Regions from separate parts of the Homo sapiens genome. Here region 2 is linked to region 1. Evidence: promoter capture Hi-C in human tissues and cell types (Jung and others, 2019). All regions are on one chromosome and are shown on one strand. The core of a region is centred on a gene start or on the middle of the fragment in contact, and the rest is flanking DNA. Distances in the headings are between cores, read along the strand shown.

Evidence for each region. Contacts are between HindIII fragments. The study calls those that stand out against the background at their distance.
Region 2: a contact is called between a fragment that was not itself captured here and the fragment with the promoter of ACTL6A in region 1, in 1 of the 25 tissues and cell types used here (heart right ventricle).

Annotation. Positions count from the first base shown.
Region 1 is chr3:179,557,172-179,564,570 of GRCh38, forward strand. ACTL6A (actin like 6A) reads left to right here and starts at 5,755. Exons shown (of 14, transcript NM_004301.5): 1 at 5,755-5,946. The coding sequence starts at 5,922. RefSeq lists silencers at 1,630-1,924, 5,617-5,846. The HindIII fragment of the contact is 12,889 bases long and covers 879-7,399 here.
Region 2 is chr3:179,504,073-179,510,640 of GRCh38, forward strand. It overlaps a transcript of GNB4 not described here. Among named protein-coding and RNA genes, the nearest start is that of ACTL6A, 56 kb to the right of the region's middle. The HindIII fragment of the contact is 7,171 bases long and covers 1,453-6,568 here.

The DNA of each region.
Region 1 (7,399 bases), core at 4,505-7,004:
GGAGTGCAGTGGCGTGATCTTGGCTCAGTGCAAGCTCCGCCTCCCGGGTTCACGCCATTCTCCTGCCTCAGCCTCCCGCGTAGCTGGGACTACAGGCGCCCGCCACCACGCCCGGCTAATTTTTTATATTTTTAGTAGAGACGGGGTTTCACCGTGTTAGCCAGGATGGTCTCGATCTCCTGACCTCGTGATCCACCCGCCTCGGCCTCCCAAACTGCTGGGATTACAGGCGTGAGCCACCGCGCCCGGCCCGAGAATGCTTCTTAAAGATCCCTAGTGTATTGTGAGTTACATTTGGATCAGAAAAAATAGAGAAGGGGGAATATATCTACATAATCAGTTGTATAAGCATAGAACCACCCTGAAGAGGAGACGGCTAGGGATACAGGTAAAAGGGAAGACTTAGTTCTCTGTATCTTTTTATACCTTTAGATTTACATACATGTCTGTGTATATACATATATAATATATACAGATTATATTATTATATATTATATATAATTGAAATGATTGTTTTTCAAGTTTACTAGAAGCATGGAAGTGGAAAGAGAAAGCTATCTTGAAGTAGAAACAGCATACTCAGTAGGTTCAGACAACTCTAGTTTCAAATCCTGACTCTCAATAGCTTTGTGATGTTGGGCAAGCTGGTAAATCTCTGGGCCTCTTCTGCCAAAACCCTCAGAAGGATAAGTCGATTAATGGAAAATATTGTATATAAAGCGTCTTTCCTATGATAGCACATAAAGTTCAGTAATTTGTGGTCATTATTATCGTGTGGCCGATGAAATCCTTTCTATTCCAAAGCAGTTTCAAGTGTTCCAAAGAAGCCATCCTTAGCAAGAACCTTGGACTCAGGAGAGTATTGCTCCTCGAGCTGTGTAACAGCCTTACAACATGGTGTTGCTACTGACCTAGATCAATGAGAAGCCCTGATTTGCCCAAAAGTGGCCCCAAGTGACACAGTGTCACTTTACAGCACCAGTTGATTAAATGTTGGCATTGCTAACTCACATGGTGATTTTCCCCAAAAGCTATATTGAATGAACAAAGAAGAGGTTTTTTTTTTTTTTTAAAGATAATGAAATAACAATATAGACTCGTACAACTCACCGAGAATTTAGCATCTCATCTTTTTTTCTTTACTTTCTTGTCTGTTCAGGACCATTGTTAATACCATAGCAAACCTATTAGTGTGTTATAAAGTTACCAGCTGTGACCAAACATACTTTTATTTGCTTCTTTATAGATCTAGGTTACATTATTGAAATGGATAGATCTCTTACTATTCTGATGGCAAACATGTATGAATCTTACCAATCATATTTCTATTGTTGAAAAACCCTATATATGATACCAGGTATTTATCTTTTATCTCAGTAGTGCTTGGATGAGTGTTATACATTTGGAACTTCAGTACGCAAAGGATGGTGCTTACAATGACTCCTCATACACACAAAAATGTCTATTTTGAAAATTGCTTTTTACTACTGCCAACTTTATATATTTTGCAGCATGAAACAAAATAATTCTAAATGTACATAAATTTTTGTGTCATTTCTTCCTGACGGATGATAATTTTCTGAATTTGTTTCCTAGCTTGCATAAACAGCAGTTGCATTTTTTTTTCAATGCTGAACTTAATAAAAGCTGAGACAGAGGATAAGATATGTAACATTTTGTAATGACTGCTGAAATTCCATAACCTGAGTGCTGACAGGGCTGGTGAAGAAAGTAGAGAGGATCCAGCATCACAAGTCCTGGTGGATCATTACAAGAATGGACGACCAGCGACCCAATGTGGCAAAGCCAATTGTTGCACCTGGGGCCACAGAAGAAATTCTTGATGCTTGGATATTACAAATGATTTTTGAAAGCCTCTTTATTTTTGTAAACTGGATTCGGAATCAACCACTGAGCACCTACTCTGGGCTAGATAAATTTATATACCTGTTACTTCAACATCTTTTGTTTTTAGGTTGACATACCTGATATATTGGTTCAGGGGGAAAATTGCAAGCATTGATAGTTTTGATATGCTGTGCCTTTGAGAACTGAAATAACAGACAATAACCTTGAGTTGTTGCAGTTTAATCTGACTAGTTATTGACAACATTAATATAGGCTGAGCCAAGACTTTAGAGAAAACATGTTAGACAACAGGGGAGAAATATCACTACTCAAAAAACCCCAACCCTCATATATTTTATATTTCATAAAGCAGATTTTGCTGGGTTAGTACTTTTGTTTTAATGTACTTTCAACTAGTTTTCCTAAGAATTGAAGATTGGGAGGCCGAGGCAGGTGGATCTCTTGAGGCCAGGAGTTCAAGACCAGCCTGGCCAACATGGTGAAACTCCTTCTCTACTAAAAATACAAAAATTAGCTGGGCATGGTGGCACATGCCTGTAGTCCCAACTACTGGGGAGGCTGAGGCAGGAGAATCACTTCAACCTGGGAGATGGAGGTTGCAGTGAGCCAAGACCATGCCACTGCACTCCAGCCTGGGCTATAGAGCGAGACTCTGTTTTACAAAAAAAAAAAAAAAAAAAAAAAAAAAAAGAATAGAAAACAGCCATACTGTTAAGTCAAAGGAAATAACGTCATTAATATGGAGGATGCCCATCCACCGACATAGTTCTTTTAGAAGGCTGAATAGGTTTTCTTTCTGAACAATCTCATGCTCCAGCAATTCAATATTTCAGGGCCAATAGTCTTAGTGTCCTATTACATTTTTTATTGATTAAAATTTATCAAAGGATTCACAAGTGTGCACTTTTATCTGTGTCAACATGTGATTTGTCCTGAAACATCAGATGTAATGTGAAGTTTATTTCCTTTGAAATTCATTTCAATGGCTTATTATTAAATGAAGCCGTGGTTCCAATGGGACATCAAGAGATTCCAAGCCAACCTGATATTACAAATGAATGAACAAACAAATGATCTGTTTTCTAGTATTTTTCCAAATTATCAAATGGAGCAAAACCTGACTTTAAGCAAAATCATCTGAGTGTCACTTCCATCTTCTTTGTGCTGTCAGATTTACAATTCTCCTGCACAGTTTGGTTACTCTGCACACGGTGCAGGACAGTTTTAAATCTGGGGAGGAGACAGTCCCATCTCAGGCTTTCCAGAGGCTAGAGGGCGTGGTCCTCATCATCAACCCTCTTGAACTGTTTTGTTTTAAGATAAATGCTGAACAAGTGGAACAAATATTTTACTCTCTTTTAGACTAGATAGGTATTTTACTTCTAGGATATATTATCTTCAAACATGAGAGATGTTGGAGATAGTATTGAAGAGAGATATCAATGTTCAGCGATATCAAAATCTAGTTAATTTGCTGTATATAAATTATTTGGCATTTAAATGCTACATTGATTTAAATGGATAACTGTGTATTATAAACTCACAAATAGCATCTCTTCAATATTTAATTATTAGAAAACATCTCAATATTTTATACTCTTCAGCTACTAGTCAAAGACATCATAAAAACATAGATTGGAAGAAGAAATATTTTGGGGATTTGATATGCAGCTACAGTGACAGCTATAATAATGGGGACAACAGTTAACATAGGGTACTTATGCACGCTATGCTGGTTATATTACATGTGTTAGCTCAGGTCTGCAAACTCTTCTTGTAAAGGGTCCAGTAATAAATGTATTCTCCAGCTGAGTGGGACACATAGTCTCTGTCTCCCAACTACTCAACTCTACCCTTACAGAGCAAAATAGTCATAAATGAGTAAGTGTGGGCTGTGTCCTAATAAAACTTAGTTTAAGGTCACTGAAGTGTGAATTTCACATAGTTTTCACATCTCTCTCCTTCTTTCTTTTGTTTTCTTTTTTTCTTTTTTTTTTTTTTTTTCAGGGACTTGCTTTGTCACCCAGGCTGGAGTGCAGTGGGGAGATCACGACTCACTGAAGCTTTGAACTCCCAGGCTCAAGCAATCCTCTCACCCTAGCCTCCAGAGTAGCTAGGGGGCATGCACCACCATACCCAGATAATTTTAAAATTTTTTGTAGAGACGGGGGTCTCCCTGTGTTGCCCAGGCTGGTCTTGAACTCCTGGCCTCAAGCGATCCTCCTGCTTGGACCTCCCAAAGTGCTAGGATTACAGCTGTGAGCCACCATGCCCAACCTGTCACATATTATTCTTTAAAATATTTTAAATAATAATTTAAAAACAGAAATAATCATTCTTAGCTCAAGGCCAAAAAAAAAAAAAAAAAAAGGCAGTCTTCCCACCTGCTTCCCCTTTTCCCCACCTCCCCTCCCCACCCCACACACAAAAGACTGGATTTGGCCCTAGTGCCATAGTGTGCTGACACACATCTGCATTATCTCACTGGGTTAATAGGGCTTTTCTAAATGGTCAGATACACTGTGATTATATTGTCAAGTGAATGGGAAAGAGTTTTCCCGCTAGCCTTTTTTCCCACCCTACTGCCTCATCACTTTCTGCCACCCTCTGCCACTGAGACTGATGGGGTTTTAGTCAATCGTTTCTAAGGTTAAAAGTAGGCACTGCATGTCTAGACTCTAGACAAGGATCAATTACAAGGATAGGCAGCAATCTTAAGGGTTTGAGCGCTGGAGTGTCCTGATCGGGTTTGGGCGTTTTCACAGATGAAGCTCCCTTGATCAAGAGTGGCAAAGGGACACAGCAACAAGTTGTTGCAGTAATCTGGGGATAAAGGAAGGTGATCTGGACTAGGCTGGTAGAAATAGGGGACTAAGGCTGTTTTTGGGATGCCTATTTAGGATTGGGTGCTTGCTTGAATGAAGATTGATTAGCTGTTTTAAATACCTCTCACAGGATAAAAGAAATTGATTTTTTTTTTTTTTGAGACAGAGTCTTGCTCTGTCGCCCAGGCTGGAGTGCAGTGGCGCAATCTCGGCTCACTGCAACCTCTGCCTCCCGGGTTCAAGCGACTCTCCTGCCTCAGCCTCCTGCGTAGCTGGGACTACAGGCCCGGCTACTTTTCTCATTTTTAGTAGACACAGGGTTTCACTGTGTTGCCTAGGCTGGTCTCGAACTCCTGACCTTGTGATCTGCCCGCCTCGGCCTACCAAAGTGCTCGGATTACACGCATGAGCCACCACGCCCGGCCTGAAATTTTTTTTTTTTTTTAAAGAAATGAGTAAGTTTTTTAATAGTTTTTAAAGCGCTACCTAGGTTTAGCTGGGATACCGCATAATTTCATTCTTCTTTTACTTATTAATAACCATTTTAAAAACTGCAAGATCCTATCAATTTGTCTGATTTACTGATTCCCCTATCCCAAAGTGGAGCGCAAAATTTTTACTTTTTCAACATAAAAGTTAGTTTAAAATACTTTTTCTGAAGAAAAAAAGAAAGAAATCCGCATTCCCCACAGTCACTGGACAGGAATCTCGGCGTGGAGACACCCGTTCAATTTCCAGGGGTCTACCTTCCCCTACCCGGGTTCCCGCCGCTCCTCAGCGCCCAGACGCACCTCCTAGTCCCGCCCCCATGCTTCTTCCAGCCTTCCTCCTTCTTCTCCCACTGCCTCCGCCCATTCCCTCGCCCACCCGGGAAGCTCCGCCCCCTCCAGCTCCGCAACCCAACTCCTTCTGTCCTGCTGTCGCTTTCCTCTTTCCCGCCCCCATGGCTGCCTTCGATTGGCTAAACCTGCTGGGCCGCGGCGGGGATGCGGCGCAGCCGCATTCTGATTGGCTAGACTTAGGCCTGGACCCTAGTGATTGGCTGATAGGAGGAGCCAGCAAGTGTGGCTGAGCTCCGGGGTGTGTGGACGCCGCTTTGTTGCCTGAGGTGGGTGGCGGTGGAAGTTAAGGGAGTCAGGGGCTATCGCTCCTCGAGACTCGCAGTCGCGGCCACTGCAGTCACTTCGCCAGTTAGCCCTTAGGGTAGGAGTCGCGCCGGCAGCAGCCATGAGCGGCGGCGTGTACGGGGGAGGTGAGTGAGTGCGGCCGGACGAGAGAGCGCGCCTTTTCGGCGTGTGGGGTTTGTAACCGCCGCTCCCAGCCCTCCCCTCCCCGGCGTTCCCTTCCGGTCTCCCCCTCTCGGGACCCCGGCCTCCCCGCCCCGTCCCCGCCCCACGCTCTGCCCGCCCCCGGAGCCCACCCGGCTCGCCGTGCTCCTCGGGCTCCCTGAAGTGGCGGCTCTCTGTGGCCTCTTCCTGCCTCTGTCCCCGGAGGAGCAGGGTTTTGGGGTGCGCGCTCGGTTCTCTAGGGAGCCTCGGGGCTGGGCGGGAGGCTCAGTCTAGCCGGCCGCCGGGCCCCGGCTTGGGTGACCGCCCCAGGGTCGCATCTCCCCGAGTGCCTCCTGGACTCAGCTGTGTCGGGACGCGTGTGCGCCCGCCTAAACTTGGAAGGTCCCGGCGGTTTGCAAGCGTGGACGGAGGGTTCCCAGAGTGTCCCATAGGTGGCAAAGCGAGCCTCAAGCCGTAGAACTGACTAGGGAAGCGGCGGCCACTTAGGGTACTGCCTCCTCCCCGTCTGCGCCCCATGCGCGAGCTGCCTCACCTTTCAGTAACTCTTGCCTGTTTTTTGGCTGCGGAGTCTCCAGAGTGACTCGTGGGCGGGTCTGTTTGAGATCAATTCAGGAGCACGTGTAATTTAAGGATGCCCAGAAAGTTTGCTGGGGGTCCTAGGCGTGTTATTTTTTCACTTTCTTTGATTAGACTGTGGTGTGGTAGGAAGATTACCAGGTGCCGGGGGTTACAGACCTGGGTTGAAATATCCACCTCACTCTTTATTAAGCGCTTTGGTCTTGGGCAGTTTATGTAACTTTCCAACTTCAGGCCTCATTTATGGAATAATTCCTAGCCGATGGGGGTGGGCATGAAGGTTAAATGAAATAATGCTGCATTTGCCACTTAAAGTCTGGCCCATGGACCAGCAGTGTCAGCATCACCTGCAAGCCTGTTAGAAATGCAGGATCTCACGCGTCATTCAGAATCTACTGATTTAGAGCCTCCATTTTTGCAAGATCTGCAGGTTAATCGAAACACTGATACATATAATTCATGTGTTGGGTTGTGTTTGATGAGTTAGAGACCCAGAAAACAAATCCAGACTATTGCTGTTGTTACTGTGTCTAGTAGTGATGCTGTTTCTATAAAGGATGTCATTTTACAGGTAGGAAACAACAAAAATAAGATTTTTCCTTCATGTTCCCCAAGAAAATCACATCACCCCTAAACTTGGAAGGAGAAAAACATTAAAATCCTCAAAAAAGACAAAAGCCTTTTTAGTAGAGTAGAGGTTCAATTCTTGAGGATTTTTATAGACTAGAAATTGCATCCTAGGTTTTAAACATCCAGAACTCTGTGGTTCTATTAAGCCTCCTGCCTCCCATGGCCACTCTCCTACTTTGGGTTCATGGGGCTTGATTTTTAATGAAGCAG
Region 2 (6,568 bases), core at 3,788-6,287, 54 kb before region 1:
ATAACTGCTTTCCTTTAGTATTATAATCTTTTTCATTCTTCTCAAATCAAAATTCTGAATTTTCTAGTACAGCTTGCTTTTTCGTGAGTCTGCTTTTTTTAAAAAATGGATTATTTTCTGCAGCTATCTCACATAGGAGAAAAAGGTAAAGTTTTATAAAAATAACTATATATCACCTTCTCCCATCTCTCCCACAGGCCTGATACTGTGTAAAATATGTCATGGGCAGAAAATATATATTCTGAATATATATGATTTTCTTTTGTCTTACTTTTGGCTACTTCTCTGAAGTTGTAAACAAAAGGACATGCTGATCCAGTGTTTAGGACCTGCTAAAAGGTTGTGAAACTCTTTGTGACTCTAAGCCCATCTCCCACCTCCAGCCTATAGATAAGATGAGGAATGTTGGGGATAAGAATCACTTTTGGAAATAGTTATTAGAACACCATGCATTGAAATCTTTCTATCCCACCCCCAGCTTTAGTGAGATAAGGAGCTCTAACAGACCATTTCAGAGAGCTTGCCATATCTCTGCAGGTATTTGGAGGACACAGAGACTAACTTGCTCCCAGATAAGACTAAAGATAAGAGCTGCCCCTGATAATAGAGTGAGGAGTGAAGGCTATAGTGGAAAGAGCAAGCATTTTCAGAATTCAGTGGTGGTAAAAGTCTGAGTATTTCTAGTGGACCAGACCGGACACTGCAGTAGGTGGCCTGTGTGAGCTTTCTTAAGGCATCTTCATTCTAGAGGTCTGTCTGCCTGACAAGATGACCCTAAGAGAAACTGGCTCTGGGGTGTAGAGCCAGAAGCAGGAGCTCTGGGAACAGTTGTGGGGTCAGCTGGAGGATGCTTGCCCACATCAAGGAATTGTGTAGTGGGAGATTCTGGCAGGGAGTCTTCAAACAACTAAAACCATTGCTTCAAACCATTGCTCTTTCCTCCCTACCAAAAGAATAGTGTGTCCCAGAAGAGGCTGATCCTTCAACCTAGGTCCCAAAGTCAAGAGCACATGAAGCTGATCCACAGCTAACCTGCAGTGAACAGCAACAGTCTAGGAGAGAAGGAGCCAGCACCTGTTACAGGCCTATACCAATACGGCATCAGTAAACAGAGCAACTGGAGGAAGATGTAGAACAAGTAGAGGAAAGCAGACCCTCTCATCGCAAAGCTCCAAACGTAGATCTGATTGAGAGCTATGGAAGAGAGAAGGAGCTTTAAACTGAATGAGAGATTAAAGCTTGGATTTTGATAAAATTGAGCTTCTTAAGTCATGAAGATGAAACTGTGTGACAGATAGTACCTCGGAATTTAAAGAAAAACTTTTAGATCTGCATCAGATAATATCCAGAGTCAGAGAAGGGAAGAAGGGAATAACATTCATGTAGATTTGAAAGACAGTGAGAAAAATATGTCTATTTAATAATTTTACCTTACGAAATTCAGCTGGCTTATAATGATGATATATAAAGAGCATACAAAATATACATATCCACAGGAATTTAGAGCTGAGGTGGATTTTATTCCTGCTCTCAATGAGTCGGTGTCTCTCCATGTGAAAGAATTATACTTATTTACCCACTGACATGACAACTTGATTCTGTTATTTGCTTCAGTAGTATGTGTCTATATAATGAGTGGAGTGCTGGACGACACGTTCCAGCAAAAGCTTTAAGAGTCATCATATGACTTCATCATTGCTCTTTTCTCCCTACTAAAAGAATAGCATGTCCCAGACAGAGGCTGATCCTTCAAACTACGTCCCAAAGTGAAGAGCACATGAAGCTGATCCACAGCTAACCTACAGCCAACATGAAATATGAGTGAGAAATAAGTCTTTGTTGTTGCTGTGTTTGTAAGCCACTGAGATTTCGAGGGTGTTTGTTACTGCTGCACAGCTAACCTAAGCTGATTTACATAAGCAATATTTGGCAAAATTAAGATACAGGTTTATTAAAAAGTTGAATAGCAGTATAGAAATATCACAAGCTGCCGGGCGCGGTGGCTCACGCCTTTAATCTCAGCACTTTGGGAGGCCGAGGCAGGAGGATCGCTTGAGCTTAGGCATTTGAAACCAGCCTGGGTAACATGGTAAAACCCTGTGTCAATATAAAAAAATTAGCCAGGCATGGTGGTACATGCCTGTAGTCCCTGCTACTTGGGAGGCTGAGGTGGGAGGATCACCTGAGCCCAAGAAGTGGAGGCTGCAATGAGCTGAGATTGTGCCACTGCACTCCAGCCTGGGCGATGAAGTGAGACCCTGTCTCCAAAAAAAGAAAAGAAAGGAAAAAAAGGAAAATTACTCTAAAACACTAGCAGTATTTATCTTTGAGTGATGGGATTGTGAGTGATGTTTAAAATGTGTTCTTTTGCTTATCTGATACAGAGAGGGAAAAAATATTTTAAAATAAAAAATACAAACAAAAGGGAGGAGAAATACACATAAATTAAAGGAACAGGAAGAAAACAAGTTTTGGTGATAGCAATGACAATGAAAAAGAAAGGATGGCACAAGAGGCTTTATAAAAGAAAACTTGAACGAACTTAGTTCACTAGCCCCTGAAACTCTCTGGGGCTTCAGAATTCATTCACACTGAAGCAATTTTCAGTCAACAAACTGTTTAGATTATTGAAGTCAGTTACTTTCTTCATGCTTCTCAAATCCTAGTTCCATACTCTCATCCTCATTAATACTCATTCCTTTGTTATTCTCTCTCTCATTTTTTTCTATATTACCCTCTGTAATTCTCTATTTAAATAAGCTCTTGGATTTCCTTCCCCTTATCTTACAATCTGTTGCTCACTCCCTAAAGAACATAGCACCTTGTAGTTAATGATGCTGAACAGATATTTGTTGAATGAATGCTTCTCTGTAGTGTAACTCCACCTGATTCCCTCCTCATAGCTCCTCAGCCTCCAACCTGTTGCTTCTCCTTCTGTGTTCCCATTCTGAGGAAATAGTACCAACACCCACCCAGCGGACCAAACTAAAACTAGAAATCTGAGAGTACTGTAGAGTCGCCATCCATCTGCCAAGTCTTATTAGTTCTGTTTCCTTCATGCATCGTAAATAAGTTTTCTTCCCTTTATCCTTTCTGCCACTACCCTAGTTTAGACTTTCCTCATTGCTCCCCTAAATTATTGCACTAGTCTTGCCTCTGCTTTTTTCTTCCTTCAGCTCTTCCATTCTTTGACCAATGTCCAGGCTGATCTTTTCAAAATGAGATTCCGATGATATTATCACACAGTTTTATTAATAAATCCTTTGAAGTGTTCCCAGAGGGTTCACTGAAAGGGAGAAAGAAAAAGACAGGAAGGTAGGAAGGAAGGAAGGAAGGAAGGGAAGAAGGAGGAAGGAAGGAAGGAAGGAGAAAAGAAAAGAAAGGCTTGTAGCATAGCATGGTGAGTAGACAAAATTCATTGTCATCAGGTCTCTGTCTCTTTATCTGCCAAACTGTGACACTCCAGGCATATTGAAAAATCCGTAGTTGTTGGAACACATCCTGCTCTCATTTGCCTCCAGCTCCCTCTGCCTGGAGTGCTCTTCTCCCATCTTCATCCTGTTGTTCTTGTGATTAAATCTTATTCCCACTCTCCCCATCCCCAAACTCAGCTCAGACATTACCTCCTCGGTGAAGTCCCCCTTGATGAGGGTTTTCTCTACTCCCTTTGTTCTCCCAAGCCATCTCGTGTTTACTTCAACAGCACTTTGTACAATCTTGGTATCATTTAATTATTCTCGCGTCTTCTCCACTGCAATGTTTGTTCCTTGGAATCACAGATCATGTCTTGTTCATCATATGATTGGCACATAGTTAATGCACAAAAAACGTTGATGTTAACTGAATGAATAACCACATGTTCTGGTGATTGATAGACTGTGAGGACTAAACAAAATGGAGAAGTCTAAGTTGACCAATTTTGATACTGAGAGGTTGGGAGAGTTGAAGCACTGAGAACAGAAACGGAAGTTTGGAGGCAGAGTTAGTTCAAGGAGAAGACTGATGCTTTGTCTTTATACATCATGAATTTTAACTGAAAGTATCCAAATGGAAATGACAAATATGGACATTTTATTTTTTATTAACTTTTTAAAAATAGAGACAGTTTCTCATTATGTTGTCCAGGCTGGTCTCGAACTGCTGGCCTCAAGCAATTTGCCTGCCTCAGCCTCCTAAAGTGCTGGGATTACAGGTGTGAGCCACCATGGCTGGCTGACATTTTCTTGTAGATCCACAGTGCCCCCACCCACACAGATCCATGGCAAACACACCACCATGGATGACACATGGGCACAGCAGACCCCTCACTGGAGAGGCAGCAGCTGGGGCAGCATGAGGCTCCCATGATCTCTCAGCCTCGCAAGCGCTGTACAAGATGCTGATAGGGTTAAAATAGATAGCTATCTGCTTACATTTGCGAAAAGAAACTGAAAAGATAAACCAAAACCAATAAAAATGCAGATGGAAGTTATTCTTCTGCGAGTATACTTTATACAGTTTTAGCATCTTGTTAATATTTCACATATCCAAAAGATAAAATTCAATCAAAAAGGAAAGATAATCCCTAATTTAAAAAAATTGAAATACATATTTTATTGTTTTTAACTCTATATCAAGTTAGTGACATAACTACATAGAAAATAATTACTTGAAGTCATTAACACAGCATTTTGATATATTTGCTCAATGGAATATATTCTAAGGACAAATAGAGCTGCAAAGAAATCGTAAAATTCATGCATTAGATACTTATTGTTAATAGTAATATCAGTATTATTTCAAAACTGTTTTATATGTTGCAGAAGAAAGCAATAACTATGTTAATATTGTTGGGAATCAAAACCTCTCTTTCAGCATGTGTATATATATATATATATATATATAGTCCCTGTAATGTTAAATTTGAATTGGAAATATCAGTATGAGCCTGTGATTTTTAAAAAATTTCCAGAAATATGTATTTCCTAGCTCTGTCCACTGAGAAGTCCTAGAAGTGATGACAGCACAGCTTGTGGCCTTTAAATATCATTTCCCACTCAACAAACCAAGTTTCCTTGGAGAAATGGAGGATTCCAGGTCTATGCATATATATACATACACACACACACACACACACACACACACACACACATATACGGCACCTTGCCTTTTTCATTGATATTGATAAGATGATCATGTAGAAATTGAATCATCCTTGTCTTAGGTGGTGGAGATCTGGAGAACATTTAATTTAACCCAAAGAGATTAATTTGTAAAATCAGAATGCCCATTTATTATTTTAGGTAGTGAAATAACACTACGAAATAAACTAGATATTCACACTGGCATTCTCTGTCTGTGGGCAGATCTTGGGAAGCCAAATTATAAGCAGAAGTAGCTTCTGAGCGCCAAACCCGAGTGAAGAGAGTTAGGTGGTAGCCCTAGGGGTTGACGTTCTCAAGTCATGGTCATCCCACGCAGTCTCCACGTAGACAACTCAATATGCAACTACTCCATGGAGCGGACTGTTGCCCTGTCCCACCTGGGTTTGCAGTGTTATAGACCCTTGGCCTCCATTCACCCTTTGGCCCTCCCTTCCCTCTTTTTTTTTTTTTTTCTGGCCACCCTCCTCCCCACTGGCAGCCTCTTTCTTTAGATATATTAAGACTATCAAGCCTTAGCAAGCAAAAGATCACATCTGTCCCTGCAGATGTGTTTTTGTACCACTTGGCATACAATATTGGTTGTCCACATTTCACATACAAATACAGAATTCTGACTTCAGAGACAGGGCCTCGCTCTGTCAGCCAGGCTGGAGTGCAGTGATGCAATCATGGCTCACTGCAACCTCAGCTTTGACCTCCTGGGAACAAGTGATCCTCCCACCTCAGCCTCCCAAGTAGCTTGGACGCCAAGTGTGCACTGTCACGCCCAGCTAATTTTTATTTTATTTTATTTTTTTAAGACAGGGTCTCACTATGATGCCCAGGCTGGTCTCAAATGCCTGAGCTCAAGCAATCCTCCTGCTTCGGCCTCCCAAAGTGCTGGGATTACAGGTGTGAGCCACAGTGCCCAGGCTTCTTTTTTTTTTACAAAAAGAGAAAAAAATAGGAAAACAAATTGAGCCACAAGTAGTTGGAGAAGTAGAAGCTATCCAAAATCCCCAGTTTACCATGGACCCGCCCTGCCCAGCTCACTCATTTCTATCACTTGTCTTGCCACTGTCAGTACTGAATTTGCAATCCTGGCTTTAAGATTCTTCTGTAGGATCAGTCCCTCTGCTGAGCCACTGCCCTCATTCAGTAGTGAACTATCAGAAGAAAATCTTTCTTCTTATTAATAGTACTCAGGTTCAAGGCTTGACTAGGATATCTCCCTGCTGGCTTCCTGTCTGCATTGGCACCATTTAGTGATGAACTAGTTAAAGCCATGCCATAGAAGAACTTTGCCAAAGAGAAAGAAAGCAAGGCCTGAGCCTTGAGGAAAGCCCACAGCAGAAAAGCAGAGGGGGGAAAAGATGCCTCCCCAGAATGGGCTTCCTATTTGCTCTTTTTTTTTTTTTTACATTTCTCATGTACAGACTTGAGAA